Regions from separate parts of the Homo sapiens genome. Here region 2 is linked to region 1. The links are contacts of gene promoters, found by promoter capture Hi-C in human tissues and cell types (Jung and others, 2019). All regions are on one chromosome and are shown on one strand. Each heading gives the region's core, a stretch centred on a gene start or on the middle of the fragment in contact. The rest is flanking DNA. Distances are from core to core; before and after follow the strand shown. Region 1 holds the start of SLC10A1 (solute carrier family 10 member 1). Region 2 overlaps SYNJ2BP-COX16 (SYNJ2BP-COX16 readthrough).

Evidence for each region. Contacts are between HindIII fragments. The study calls those that stand out against the background at their distance.
Region 2: a fragment that was not itself captured here is called in contact with the fragment with the promoter of SLC10A1 in region 1 in 1 of the 25 tissues and cell types used here (dorsolateral prefrontal cortex).

Annotation. Positions count from the first base shown.
Region 1 is chr14:69,792,869-69,799,897 of GRCh38, forward strand. SLC10A1 (solute carrier family 10 member 1) reads right to left here and starts at 4,373. Exons shown (of 5, transcript NM_003049.4): 1 at 3,932-4,373. The coding sequence starts at 4,287. RefSeq lists an enhancer at 144-438. The HindIII fragment of the contact is 13,632 bases long and covers 1-6,885 here.
Region 2 is chr14:70,337,845-70,344,728 of GRCh38, forward strand. The region is part of intron 3 of SYNJ2BP-COX16 (SYNJ2BP-COX16 readthrough); the gene reads right to left. It overlaps COX16 (cytochrome c oxidase assembly factor COX16), which reads right to left. Exons shown (of 4, transcript NM_016468.7): 2 at 4,814-4,885. Among named protein-coding and RNA genes, the nearest start is that of COX16, 18 kb to the right of the region's middle. The HindIII fragment of the contact is 4,614 bases long and covers 638-5,251 here.

The DNA.
Region 1 (7,029 bases), core at 3,123-5,622:
TGGACAGTATAATACTGTTCGTACAAAATTAAAAGACGTAAATCCCGCAGTCTATCTTGTTTATGAATATATACGTATATAATAGTTGAAAAGGGTCGGTGGAAATGCTGAACACCAAATTCCCAGGGATGCTCCCTTTGGCAAGTGGTGGAGGGTAATGAGATTGGGAATAGGAATACAGGGGGTTTCAATGCTACTGTTGATCTTCTCTTAGGGAAAAGCCAAACACAACTTGTGTGTTTGTTCTGGTGACCTAGAGCAGAGGAATCATGCTTACTTTGGCTTGTGTGTCAGGAGTTTTGGAGTTTGGACTTGGTGTGCCTTGTCAGCTTGGGTATGCAGGAGCCATGTTCCCTGATCCCCAGGTACTTCCTCCACTTGCACAGGTCCTGGGGTCAGGTCAGGGACATCCATCTCCTAGCCTGCTGGCATCCGTGACTGTTGTGATCCTTGGTTTACCCCAAGGGACAGGGACGGGCAAGGACTTTTTCAGACTCTAGATTCCTGAGATTGTAGGCCTGGTTGCCTTTCAGGGGGAAAGGGGCACATTTGTTTTTTTTATTTTTCCCTCCTGCTTAAGTTCCAAGAGCACAGCATAGACCTTGCTTTTGGACATCTGTGTACCCCATTTAAGGGACTCGTTCGAGTGTCCGTCAATGCACAGATTGGAGGCAGAAGCTGAGGGAGCTGTGAGGGGCCTCAACACAGTCTCTATGAAGTGGAAAACTTCTGGGACCCCAGTGGCTTCCATCTTGTCCTGGTTGAGCTTCCTACATCATGGCTGGGAGACCTGTGGAAGTGCTTGGGTTGTGTCCAAGCCCATTGTCCCCATGGCCATTGGCTCTGGGCTCTGCTGTGAGTCCGATGGTGGCAGGGGGAGCAGATGAACTTGGGGCAGCAAGGATGGTCAAAAGAGGCCAGTTCCTGCTGGCATAGCACTCTCTTCTCTGTGCCTGACAAGCCATACTCACTTCAACTGTGAGGGCGTTTTCTCTTGCCTGTTTGTCACCTACATTTTTTGAAACTTGTCTAGTGGCCTTCCTTGAGGAGGGAGCTGCCGTCCCTGGCTGCATTGAGGGGTCTGCTTGGTGGCCTGGCCTCCTGGGATGGCAGGCTGTCCCCAGACTGACTCCACCTATGAGGCAGAGTGAGTGGAGGGAGACACAGTTTCCCACAAACTCTGGGAAACCTCTGGCAAGTCTCTGACCTCAGCCTCTTCATGTGTAAAATGGGATCTGTGTCTTACAATTCCTTCCAGTTCTAAATGGGATGTAGAGTATTGTGCTTATCTCAAACTGGGGCCTTTGGGCTACAGCTGGCCCTTTGACATGTATTGTTTGGTTTGCACATTTAAAAAAATGGAATGAGTTGCTGATTTCACATAAAATGGATATTTTACCTTCTTTTGAAAAGTGGGAAGCTCTGGCTCCCACACAATACTTGCTGCTGAGACACGGGTGTCTGCCCATGCCTTTGAGGCTGTCTGGCCATTTTGTTTGTGGAAATGCTGACCTGGAAGATATTTCAGTAAAAGCACAGGTTCCGGAGCCACCCAGACCTGGAGCCAATGTATTGACCTCTCTAAGATTCAGTTTCCTTACCTCTAAATGCTACTTGTTACATGCTGTCCCCCAGGGTGCTGTAGGAGGATCACATATACTTATCCAGGTAAGGTGTTTAGCACTGTGCCTGGCTGTTTCTTATAATCGTTGTCATTATTATAATGCATGTAACAAGTTGTCCCAAATTGGAATGGGATTTGAAGTCTGGCAGCACATGAAGGTAGATGACCAGATTCCCATTCCGACAGTGGGATCTGAGACATGGTTTAATGTGCATGGGAGGGTTGTTTGTTGGGAAGGAGTTTTATGGCAGAAGGTGGCTGTCCCAGCAGAGCTTATCTCTTGTGGGGGTCTAGGTAAAAATGACAGTCATCAGGGGTCTGGACAAGGAGGTTGAGCAGGAGAGCATGAGGGGTCATGTTCTTGAGTCACCAGAGGCTCTGCCTGGGTGGGGCCTAGAGCCACAGCAATGTAGGCATTGTGGCAGAGGCCTCAATAGTGGCCACTGGCGATGGGGCTGGGACATCTGGCCACTCACACTTAAAAGCACAGTTGCCTTCCACGTCCCCTGCTCTGCTTCTTCCACAGAAACACAAAGCCCTCAGAGTACCCCTTCGCAGGCCCCTGACTTCTGCATCCCTCATACACCAAAATTCAGATATACTCTAGGATTCTTGGGACACACAGGCTGCCATGAGCCTTGTCCAGAAGCCAGATCCAAGACCAAGGGCTTGCTTTGTAGCAGAGAGGATGTGGATTAGACAGAGGAAAGCATTTTCTCACAGTGAGGTAGTTGAACATTGAAATACCTTTCCGTGGGTGATGGCACAAGCCAAATGCCCTCTTTGTGCCTCTCTTCCCATTGACTACTAAAGTGAGGGCTGAATCATATGGAAAAAGAGCCCAGAGCTTCTCAGATGGCAGATCCTGTTAAACCCCAACTCTCATTCACTCTCACTTTTTTATTTCCTTTTTTTTTTTTTTTTTGAGAGAGAGACAGGGTCTCACTCTGTTGCCCAGGCTGGAGTGCAGTGGTGTGATCATGACTCACTGTAGCCTTGAACTCGTAGGCTCAAAGATCCTCTCATCTCAGCCTCCCAAGTAGCTGGGACTACAGGCATGTGCCACTATGCCTGGCTAATTAAATATATATGTATATATTTGTAGACACAGGGTTTTGCTATGTTGCCCAGGTTGGTCTTAAACTCCTGGTCTCAAGTGATCTTCCTGCCTTGGCCTCCCAAAGTGCTGGGATTATAGGTGTGAGCCACCGTGCCCAGCCATTCTCACTTTTTTCATTTAAAAAATCTGTCCCAGTGTCATTTTGCATCACTAGGAGGGGCTTCTTGACTGGGTTAGTTTTCCTAGGAAAGTTTGGCTAGGAGTAGGGTGCTGACAGACACAAGCAGATGGACTTTCTGGGTTCTGCTGCTATACCTGGCATTGAATAGCGTCTCCACGGAGGACTAAACCAGGGGGGACTGGCTTGAGACTGAGGTTTCACTGAAAGCAAGAGCTTCTGCTAGTGAGTTTTCTTTAGCTTCAGCACAGGCTGCTGGAGCTGGAGCAGGTCTGAAGTAGCTCCTCTGGCAGATGTTCAAGACTAGAGTCTCCCCAGTTTGGAAGGATGAGCATCAACCAGCCCCTGTGTGCTGCGTCTCCAGGAGCGAGCCCTTGCTGATTTCTGCTTATAATGCTTTGGGCAGGGGGTTAGGGGGTGCTGCTGTCTTCCCCTTATCAGGGTGGCTGAGATGGGGCTGGCCTATCTGGAGTGGGTGCTGGGAAACTCTAGGATCTCCCTGGTTGTGCCTTTGCATGGAAATGTCATTGCATCTGATGGGGAATGAGGGACTTTAAAGAGAAAACATCTTAGATGACCAGGTAATTGGGAGGACCTTTTGGAAATTCTTGCCCGCTTTGCAGGAATTTGAGGTGCTCATTTGGTTCCAAGTCACCTTGATCTCCCTGATGATGTTTGGAACGAATCACACTACCTTTTAAATCTCTGGGCTCAAAGCAGGCAACTTGTCCACTGTTGTAGGTGGATGCAGTTCTCCAGAGGTTCCTTTGGCTTTAATCAGTGCTCCTTTAAGACAATCCTTGAGACACCTCTGGAAGCAAGGAGATCACCACGAGCTTCCTGGACCAGTATGGTCCCTTTGGCTTGGTGCCTAAACCAGACGTACCCCAACTCCTGCCCCCATCCCAGCATAAGCTCTTGGCAATAAATGCCAGACTTCCCCTGCCCTAGCCTCCACCCAGCCTGCATTCACTCCTTTTCCTGGCTTTAGCCCAGCTCTTCCCCTCAATTGTGACATATCTAATGTAGCTCCTGTCCCAGGCTGTTCCCTCCTCACCCCCAGGCCTACCTGAGGTTCATGTCCCCCTTCATGGCCAGACTGAAGACATTGGACAGGTTCCCTCCAGGTGAGCAGCCACAGACCAAGATGGCCAGTGCCTCAATGTTCTTCAGCCGGAAGACCTTGCCCAGCACAAAGGCCGTGAGGGGCATGATGCCATACTGTGCCACCAGGGCGATGGCCAGCCCTTTAGGCTTCCATAAGTGAGCCTTGATCTTGCTGAACTCCATGGTGCAGCCCAGCGAGAGCATGATGAAGAACAACATGAACACCAGGATGACGCTCAGTGCCAGGTCTGTGGGGCGCTTGCCAAAGTTGGGTGGCAGGGTGAAGTTGAATGGGGCAGACGCGTTGTGGGCCTCCATCCTCCTGTGAGGCAGTGGAAGACCACTCCTTGTTCTCCGGCTGACTCCGTTTCTTGTGCAGTTCTTGCTGGATGCCTTCTTTAATCACCTCTCAGGACAGAGAGTTTCTGGACAAAAGCTCTGGGCAAATAGAAGGGTTATGCAACTATCTGAGCTATTTCTCTGGCTGTCGCCCCAAAGAGGAACAGCCCAGAACCTTATCTGCCTGCCCTAGCTCTCCCAAGCTCCCTGACCTCTGCTGGATTCCTGGGTGCTACTTGTACTCCTCCCTTGTCACTTTGCTGCTTCTGGGCTTATTTCTCCCCTTTGCCCTCCACTGAGTGTGCCTCATGGGCATTCATTCAGTTACTGGGGACCTGCCCAGGGCCCACCTGAATCTAGGTCCAGCCCATCTCCTTCCCTGCAGCTCCTTTTCCCAGCTCCGCTCTTGATTCCTTAGTTTCTTGGTTGGGGGAAGGTGCCCTCCCCATGTCCAGTGGGTTATCATTTGTCCCCAGAACCCATGAGAGTGAAAGGAGCTGGGTGTTGCCTTTGGTTCCTAGATACAGGTAGCATAGTCCAAGGGGGTGTGGGACAGGCAATGTCACTGGCCTCCAGGAGGGGATGTGTCCATGACCCTTTTCCTGGGAGCTGAGAGGATGCCAGTATCCTCCCTGCCTGTTCTGGGGAAATGTTTGTTTTATCCCCAAACTGGGACTGTATGAGTCCCAGGGAGGAATACTGGTGGTGGCTGCTCCACACTACCTGGAATGCTTACCATCAGAGGGAATAACCAGCTGGGATGGTGGGTGGGCTCTCAGGAAGCTTGGAGGCTCTTTCCCCGAAAAGCAACCTGAGAGAACCCTGGCTGTGGAGATTGCTTTGTGCCCGAGGAGGCCCATTGCTTGCAAAACTTGCTGAGAAGGAAGCAGGAATGCAGTCTTTTCTTCCTGACTTCCTGATTGCTTTACTTTTGCACTGGGCCTGTGTGTTTCAGGCTGGGAGCCAGGCTTGGGGCGTGGAGCAGAAGCAGAGAGAGGTGGGCATGCCAGGGGCGGGGCCACCTAGTGTGTGAGGTTATCCTAGGCCTTGCTCTTTCCATCTATCCCCACTGCAGAGGTGGGACAAGGGAGGAGGGGTCTCCTTCAGAAACACAATTGCTTCTTGGCTTGGTTGGAACCTAGGAGGCCTGGGTGGGGTCTGAAACAGGTGATTAGGCTTTGTATGTAGGACTCCAGAGGGCAGAATAGGGACCAGGGTGTGAACCACTGTTGGGTGGAGGTGGGGACAGATTTTGGCTTGGTGCAAGGAACCACCTGAAAATGAGAGCTCTCCAAGAATGGCCTTGAGGCCTCTGGAATCCTGCTTGGATAAGGGTTGGATGGCAGGATCCATACATATTGCATCATATCCATGAAAAGGCTGCTCCCTGGGCTTGCGCGGTGGGCAGCCTGCGGGGCCGTATACTGTGGCCCTGGGTGACATGAACTTGAAGCCTCTTTTCCTTTGAGAGTCTCTGCTAATGATTTCCTGGTGCTTGAGTTGGGCTGGTATCAAAGGGAGGGCAGGCAGAGGACTGGGCACTGGATGTGATGCCTGGACTGAGCGTTCCCACAGGGTAGGGTTGAGTCTCAGAGGAGGCTGCTTCCTCTCCCTGGGGCTAATCAGAAGGGAACAGAGTTGCTAGGGGAGAATTATTGATCACTAACTGAGTACCAGGCACCATGGGAGGCAAAAAAAATAAAAATAAATAAATAAAAAAAACTATATAATTCATGTTCCTGTTCTCAGGGACCTGATGGTCTGTACAAGACCACAGATGGCCAGATGGTACACAATGCAATATGGAAGCACGTGAGGGTGGAGGCCATGCAGGGCTGCCAGGTACACCTGTTCAGGTTGGGCACTACACAATGCTAGGGACGCCACTCTACAGATGTCTTGTGCAACCGTACATGAGGCCTTGAAGTCAAAGGGAGACGTTAGGTTTTTACACATTTGCCTGATGCCAAAGGGTGAGGAGGAATTGACCAATATCTGTTAAAGATCAGGGTCTGGGCATGTGTCTATTGTGCACATCCAAAGAGAAGAAGAGTTCCTATGAACACATTTGTAACCTGGATTCTAAACCACGTAGTCTCTATCAACTCTTCCTCCTCACCTCTTCTCAGGAACCCAAAATCCTTCCACCTCCTACTGTGAGTTTTTCCCTTTGAGAAAACAGTTTCTTGCCCTGGCTGCCCCTCCTCCCACTCCTTCCCATTCCCTCTGTTCCTAGCAATGTGACTTTGCAGAGAATGGAAAAATCTCTTCCAGGAACCTGACACCCTCCATTCTTTTCCCCATATCCCCTCAGAATCTACTCTAATTTAATACAATTTTGGAAACAGGAAGATCTTTTTGTGTTATGTTAATGATACCTGAGAGTTGTTGAGCACATGCTGTGTGATGGATGCTGTGATTTAAATTACATTTCTTTTTAACTTTTATTTTAGATTTAGGGGTACATGTACAGGTTTGTTGTTACAGACAAACTTGTGTTATGGGGGTTTGGTGCACGGACCACTTTGTCACCCAGGTACTAAACATAGTACCTGATAGTTCTGATAGTTATTTTTCCTGATTCTCTCCCTTCTTCCACCCTCCTCCCTCAAGTAGGCCCCAGTGTCTGTTGTTCCCTTCTTCGTGCCCATTAGTTCTCATTATTTAACTCCCACTTATCAGTGGGAACATGCAGTATTTGGTTTTCTGTTCCTGCATTAG
Region 2 (6,884 bases), core at 1,695-4,194, 540 kb after region 1:
ACACAGCAAAAAAGAGGTTTAGTGACTAGAAGATAACACAATAGAAAATATACAAAATAAAGTACAAAAAAAAAATGAGGGGAAAACAAAACATTGAAAAATCATAATAGAAATGTTGGGCATGAAGAATATAACACACATCTGATTGGTATCCCATAAAGAAAACTCGGCAAAAGCAACAACTGACAAGATAATGAACAATTTTTGGTTTTACATTTTCTGTGGTTTCATTAAAATCTTCAAAGAAATCAGAAGATAATTTGGCTTTTTGGGTCTCTTGTTTTTTTGAGACAGGGTCTCGCTCTGTCACCCAGGCTGGAGTGCAATGGCACGATCACAGCTCACTGCAGTCTCAAACTCCTGAGCTAAATCAATCCTCCCAGATCAGCCTCCGAGTAGCTGGGACTGCGGGCACGCACCACCACGCCTGGCTACTTTTTTCATTTTTTGCAGAGATGAGGCTTCACCATATTGCCCAGGCTGGTCCTGAACTCCTGATTCAAGTGATCCACCAACCTTGGCCTCCCAAAGTGCTGGGATTAACACATGTGAACCACCATGCCCGGCCCCAGAAGATAATTTGAAAGTCAATTTTTTCTAAATCAAGTACCTAAGAGCTAAGGTGGACATTTCTTGGTGCCATTTTTCTGTTTAGCATTGATATACTATAGAAAGCACGATCCTTGGTAAAATTTAACAGTATACATAGGAGGTCAACAAACCTGGTACCAGTCCCCCTTTTGTTCACCCATAGGATATTTTAGTAGTTCTAACCTCTGAATCAGAAAAATGTCACTTTAGTCAGTTTCATAGAGCAATCAAGAGAACAATATGATAATGCATGTTCTCACTGGTATGGTATACACAAGCTAACTCAGCAGCTCTATTTTAGACTGAGTATAGTGTTGTATTTTGGGGAGATGAGTAAACTTATGATTGATTTATAAGTACTTGCCTGCCTCATCGTGGACCTGTGAGATTCAGTCTTCATATCTGTTTTCACATTCCTGTCTCCACCATGCCCAATCTAATTTCTTGTTTGCGTATTGTGCAGTATGCTCCGTTTTGGTTATTTAACTCCTTAATCCAGTTGTATGTGTCCTTCCATATGTCATTAAAGTAACAGAGTCATTTAGCTTTCCTTTTCAGTGATGTCTGAATCATACTGGCACTGATATTATAATTGTTCTCATTTTCATTATCTAATCTTAGAAAACACGGTCACAATATTTATAATGTTAAAAATTAACACCATCTGTTACAAAGCACAACAGGCAGGCAAAGTCGAAGACTTACTGCTCGCAATTGCAATGTACTTATATTGCACACTTAAATCACATCTTTTGGTGTGATCCAACAATGTATGACCCATTATTGTGGATCCTTGGTGGTTAGAATCAGCACTCATGAGAAAAAAACAGCAACAGCCACTAGGGACAGCAGATAAACTATTCCAAATCATTTTCTAAAACTTGAAAGCTGTTGCTTCCAGCCCTTACTTTTTTAGGCTTATACTTTCCCATGAACTTTGCACATCCATTACTGAGAAGCAAGATTTTTTTTTCCTGGGATGCCAAACTTTCAGTACAAAAATCAGGACTGTCTCAAGCAAACAATGACGGTTGGTCACCCCAAATCCATATTGTGCTTTCTACATCCTTTTCCAAACTTCTCAACTGAACCCATCCTCTCTTGATCCAATTTGTTCCTTTAGACCACAGTGTCAACCCCCCTTGACCTCAGCAATTTACCCTCTTGACCACCCTAACCTCAATCTCTCAACCCATGCAACCACTATCAGCCTCAAACAATCTTATCCTTTCAATCCTGAAGAACAAAACTCAACCTCTTAACTCCTCTCAACATTACCTCATCCTCTCTACCTAACTGGAACTCAACCTCACCCAAACACTGACTCTTGATCACCTGAGTTTGACTTTTCAACATCATCAACCAACCTCGGCCTCTAAATGTCATAAGCCTTGTCTTCTGATCCTTCTCACCTCAACCATGTCCTCTCATCTTCCTCCTACAGACCTTAACCATCCTCCTTCTTTTAACCTCATTCCCTTGACTTCAACTGACCTTGTCCTCACAACTTCAATCAACCTCATTCTCTTAACCTTACCTAATCTTGTTCCGTTTACTTTGACTCCATTTCCTAAACCTCATCTGGTAGCTCAACCTCCCCTGTTCTCCTTAACTGGGTGATATGGTTTGGCTGTGTCTGTACCCAAATCTTATCTTGAATTGTAGTTCCCATGTGTCATGGGAGGGACCTGGTGGGAAGTAATCAAATCATGGACGTGGTTTCCCCCATGCTAGTCTCATGATAGTAAGTTCTCACAAGATCTGACGGTTTTATAAGGGATTTCCCCCTTTGTTAGGCTCTCATTTCTCTCTCCTGCCGCCATGTGAAGAAGGTCATGTTTGCTTCCCCTTCTGCCATGACTAAGTTTCCTGAGGCCTCCCCAGTCTTGTGAAACTGTAAGTCAATTAAACCTCTTTTCTGTATAAATTACCCAGTCTTGAGTAGGTCTTTATTAGCAGTGTGAAAACAGACTAATACACTGGGTTATTGGCACCACCATTTACCTAGTCCTCAAAACCAAAACCTTGAGACATCTTAGATTTATTCATATTTTTGTATTACATACATTAGTCATCAAATACTATCAATTTGCTGCTAAAATTATTGCTGGAACTCATTAATTTCTCTTTATCATCGTTGCAAATATTTTATTTCAGGTTCCATTATTGTTCATCTATGCTACTGCCCCAGAATCCTAACAGATCTCTTTACTTCCAACCTAAACAATATTTTCTCTTCTCTCTTGCTCCCCCAATACCCATCCACCTGTACTCCACTGCCAGAGAGTTAGTTCTAAAATGAAACACTGACCATGTGCCCAATAATCCCTCTACCTTATAGAATATAAGTCATTTCTATCATTTAGCTAATTCCTACTCATTCTTAAAGCCTAATTCAAAGGCTAATGCCTTTAGAAAACTTTCTCTGATTCTCCTTTTCCAAGTTAAAACTATACACCTCTCCTTGAACGTCTAGTAATGGCATTTTACTGGCATTGCTATATTATATGTCTGGGTACATTTTTTTAATTAGCTGTCTTCCAGCCTCAATTATAAACTTTATAAGTACTAGTTTCTGAATACTTTACTTGCAGCATCTAACAAGTATTAACACATGACCACTATTCAATTATTTTTCAAATATATACTTATTTTCTCCCTTCCAAATGTCATATACTACCATAATTTTCATCTTAAAGGGAAAAAGAAAAAAATTCCTTGATAAAATAATTGGGATGCTAACTGAAAGCTTTTAACACAGTTAAATTGAAAGTTGCTAACTGAAAATTAAGTAAAATTCCTCATTAAATAAAATTGTTCTAATCCTTCATAGAAAGTACACATTTTTTTAAATTTAAAATTTACCCTAATACCTACTGTCCTTAAAACTAGCTGATGTTGGTTTCTCTAAAACCATAAAATTAACTGAGGAAACTGAATAGGACTTTATACTCTACTTTTCTATCAATATTACTGAGGTCTGCTAATAAAATACATATATTACTTGAGAAAAAAACTACAAATATCAGATATGTGCCATAAACAAAAGCTATGTACTTCTGAATGAAAAAACCAGAGTTCTTATGTGTCCTGAATTTCACAATTGTGTGATTAGAGGGTGAGAATCCTAGCTCTACCCCTAAGTAGCCATGTGACCTTAGCCAACTTAGATAAGCTTTATTTTTCTTCAGTTTTTTCAAGTAAAGACCCACTATAGTTAATGTATAGACCCCCTCAGTTTCCTCACCTGTAAAATAAAGACGATAACATATAGCCCCAACTTGCAATGTTTCAACGTACGTTTCTTTTACTTTACGATCCATTTAATCAGATATTAAATGCATTTTTTACTTATGATATTTTCAATTTACAATGAGTTTAGCAAGACATAACCCCATTATAAGTCAAGGATCATCTGTGTGTGTGTGAGTGTGTGTGTGTATGAACTAATATAGTCCTACTACAAAGTAGATACTATAAATGTAGCTGTCTTTATTTATACTGAAAAATAGTTTTCCTTTTAGTAACAGTTATTAAAGATACATATCAATATACTTTATACAATTACTGATATTAATATTAAATTAAGAGAAATAAAATAAAGCAAAATTATTGACCTCTGTTTTTTAATCCCTTCTAAATTCTAAAAACAGCTACATCAGATCATATTTTGTGGGAGAATGCTAACAACATTGCAAATTTCCTAATGAAATAAGAAAGATTACTAGACTGGGCACAGTGGCTCACACCTGTAATCCCAACACTTTGGAAGGCCAAGGCGGGTGGATCATTTGAGGTCAGGAGTTCAAGACCAGCCTGGCCAACATAGTGAAACCCCATCTCTACTAAAAATACAAAAATTAGCCGGGTGGTAGTGGCGCACACCTGTAATCTCAGCTACTCGGGAGGCTGAGACAAGAGAATTGCTTGAGCCTGGGAGGCAGAGGTTGCAGTGAACCAGGATAGGCCACTGCACTCCAGTCTGAGCGACAGAGTGAGACCCCGTGGCAAAAGAAAAAAAGAAAGATTACGAAATTAGTTACATTTCATGATTCACTGCCATGTGATCACTAATGTTATTTTAAAGAAAAAAACAAAGATCACATCTTAGTGTTGAAAAGCAAGACAAACTCAGACTACTTAGTATACTGAGTATACAATTCTCCTAAACCAGAACATACATATAGACAGACACATGTCAAACTCTAATTATATTTCTTACTTTACTCTTCACAGCATCATATCGGATTTGAGAAAACTCACGAAGACCAAAAGAACCTCCAACAATCAGCAACTAAAACAAAGAAAGGAAACATTTAAGCAAAACAGAAGACCAGAATTCAAATTCAGCCTATCTATAGATTGCTTTTCTAAACAACAATAGAGGCACATTATACAAAAATTCTATAGATTATTTTTCCTGGTGAGTCACCATTCATCTTTTAGAGTAAATGCAGTATATACTGGCTAGGAAATCATTATAGCACATCATTACCAAATACCAAAATCGTCACCCTATACCTGTATTTGACCTTATGATTTAAATGACATCATAACAAGCATTGTATTATCTGACTCTTACAATAGACCTATTTTTGTTTTTTGCTAAGAAAAAAACAAAAACAAAAACAAATTCAACAAATGAGGAAATAAAAGCACAGCCAGCTAAATGACTTGTCCATTGTTAACTTAAATTTTGCCCAGGGATGTCTCTGTAATTCCATTGCTATGCGATCTTCCTTAGTAAGTAATGAAATTGAAACCTGATCAACTGATCAGACCATGTCCAAATAAGGCAGATGCCTAGCTATAACCAACCAAGCTATTTCTGTACTTCACTTTCCTGTTTTGTCTATACTCATTGCCCATATTGCAGAATGGAGCTCTCTCAACTTCTGGTTCTGAGTGCTGCCTGATTCATGAATTTTCTTTGTTCAAATAAACTCTATAACATTATTGTTTTTTTGTTTAAGGTTTTCCTTCTTTTCGTACTATGATTACACAAGGTAAACCCAGCAGTAAAACTTGCCATTTTTTCCTTCAAGACCAGAATTCTTTTGATTTTATGATTTTTCAAAATAAGGCAATTGGAGTTCTCATTACCTTACCAAGTGATAAAGAAATCTCATGAAAACTTGCTGCAGAATATTCTGTATATCACATTGTATTCCCAGGGACAATATGGCTATACAGGTCACAGGTAAAGAAAGTCTTCAAATTCTTACTATATAGTGAAATTCTGAAACATCATCTTAAGATATACAGAATCACTTTCATGTTTTTGCTGGCACCTATTTGAGGCACAGTATTTTCAAAAGATTTAAACTTCATAATAAAGAATTGTAACCACCGAATGGGTTCACCTTGCGTGCTACCTAGACAGAGCTGATTTATCAAGACAGGGGAATTACAATGGGGAATAACAATGGGGAATTGCAGAGCCAGCTGTGTGGAAACCGGAGTTTTATTATTACTCAAATCAGTCTCCCCGAGCATTCAGGGATCAGAGTTTTTAGATAATTTGGTGGGTAGGGGCTTGGGAAGTGGGGAGTGTGCTGATTGGTCAGTTTGGAGTTGGACTCATAGGGGGCAAAGTGAGCTTTCCTTGCTGTTTTCTGTCACTGGGTGGGATGGCAGAACTGGTTGAGCCCAATTACCCGTCTGGGTAATGTCAGCTGATCCATCCAGTGCAGGGTCTGCAAAATATCTCAAGAACTGATGTTAGGTTTTACAATAGCGATGTTATCCCCAGGAGCAATTTGGGAGGTTCAGGCTCTTGGAGCCAGAGGCTGCATGACCCATAAACTGTAATTTCTAATCTTGTAGCTAATTTGTTGGTCCTGCAAAGGCAGACTGGTCCCCAGGCAAGAAGGGAGTCTTTTTGGGAAAGGGCTATTATCAATTTTGTTTCAGAGTCAAACCATGAACTGAATTCCTTCCCATAGTTCGGCCTATGCCCAGGAATGAACAAGGGCAGCTTACAGGTTAGAAGCAAGATGGAGTCAGTTAGGTCTGATTTCTTTCATTGTCATAATTTCCTCAGTTATAATTTTGCAAAGGCGGTTTCAGTATTGCTACAAAAGTTAATGACCACAAGGAGAAACTCACTCACCATTACTTATTGTGTGTCGCTCTTATAAAACAAGCTTAGAATGGACTTTGGATTTCAGAAGACACCTGTAGATTTCCCTGACATCTCAGAGCAGGGATGAATAGTGTAAGATTCTCCCTGGGACCTGAAAGCTTAAGGAGATGAACAACTCATCCCTTCTCAGGCCCAGTCCCAAGGCACA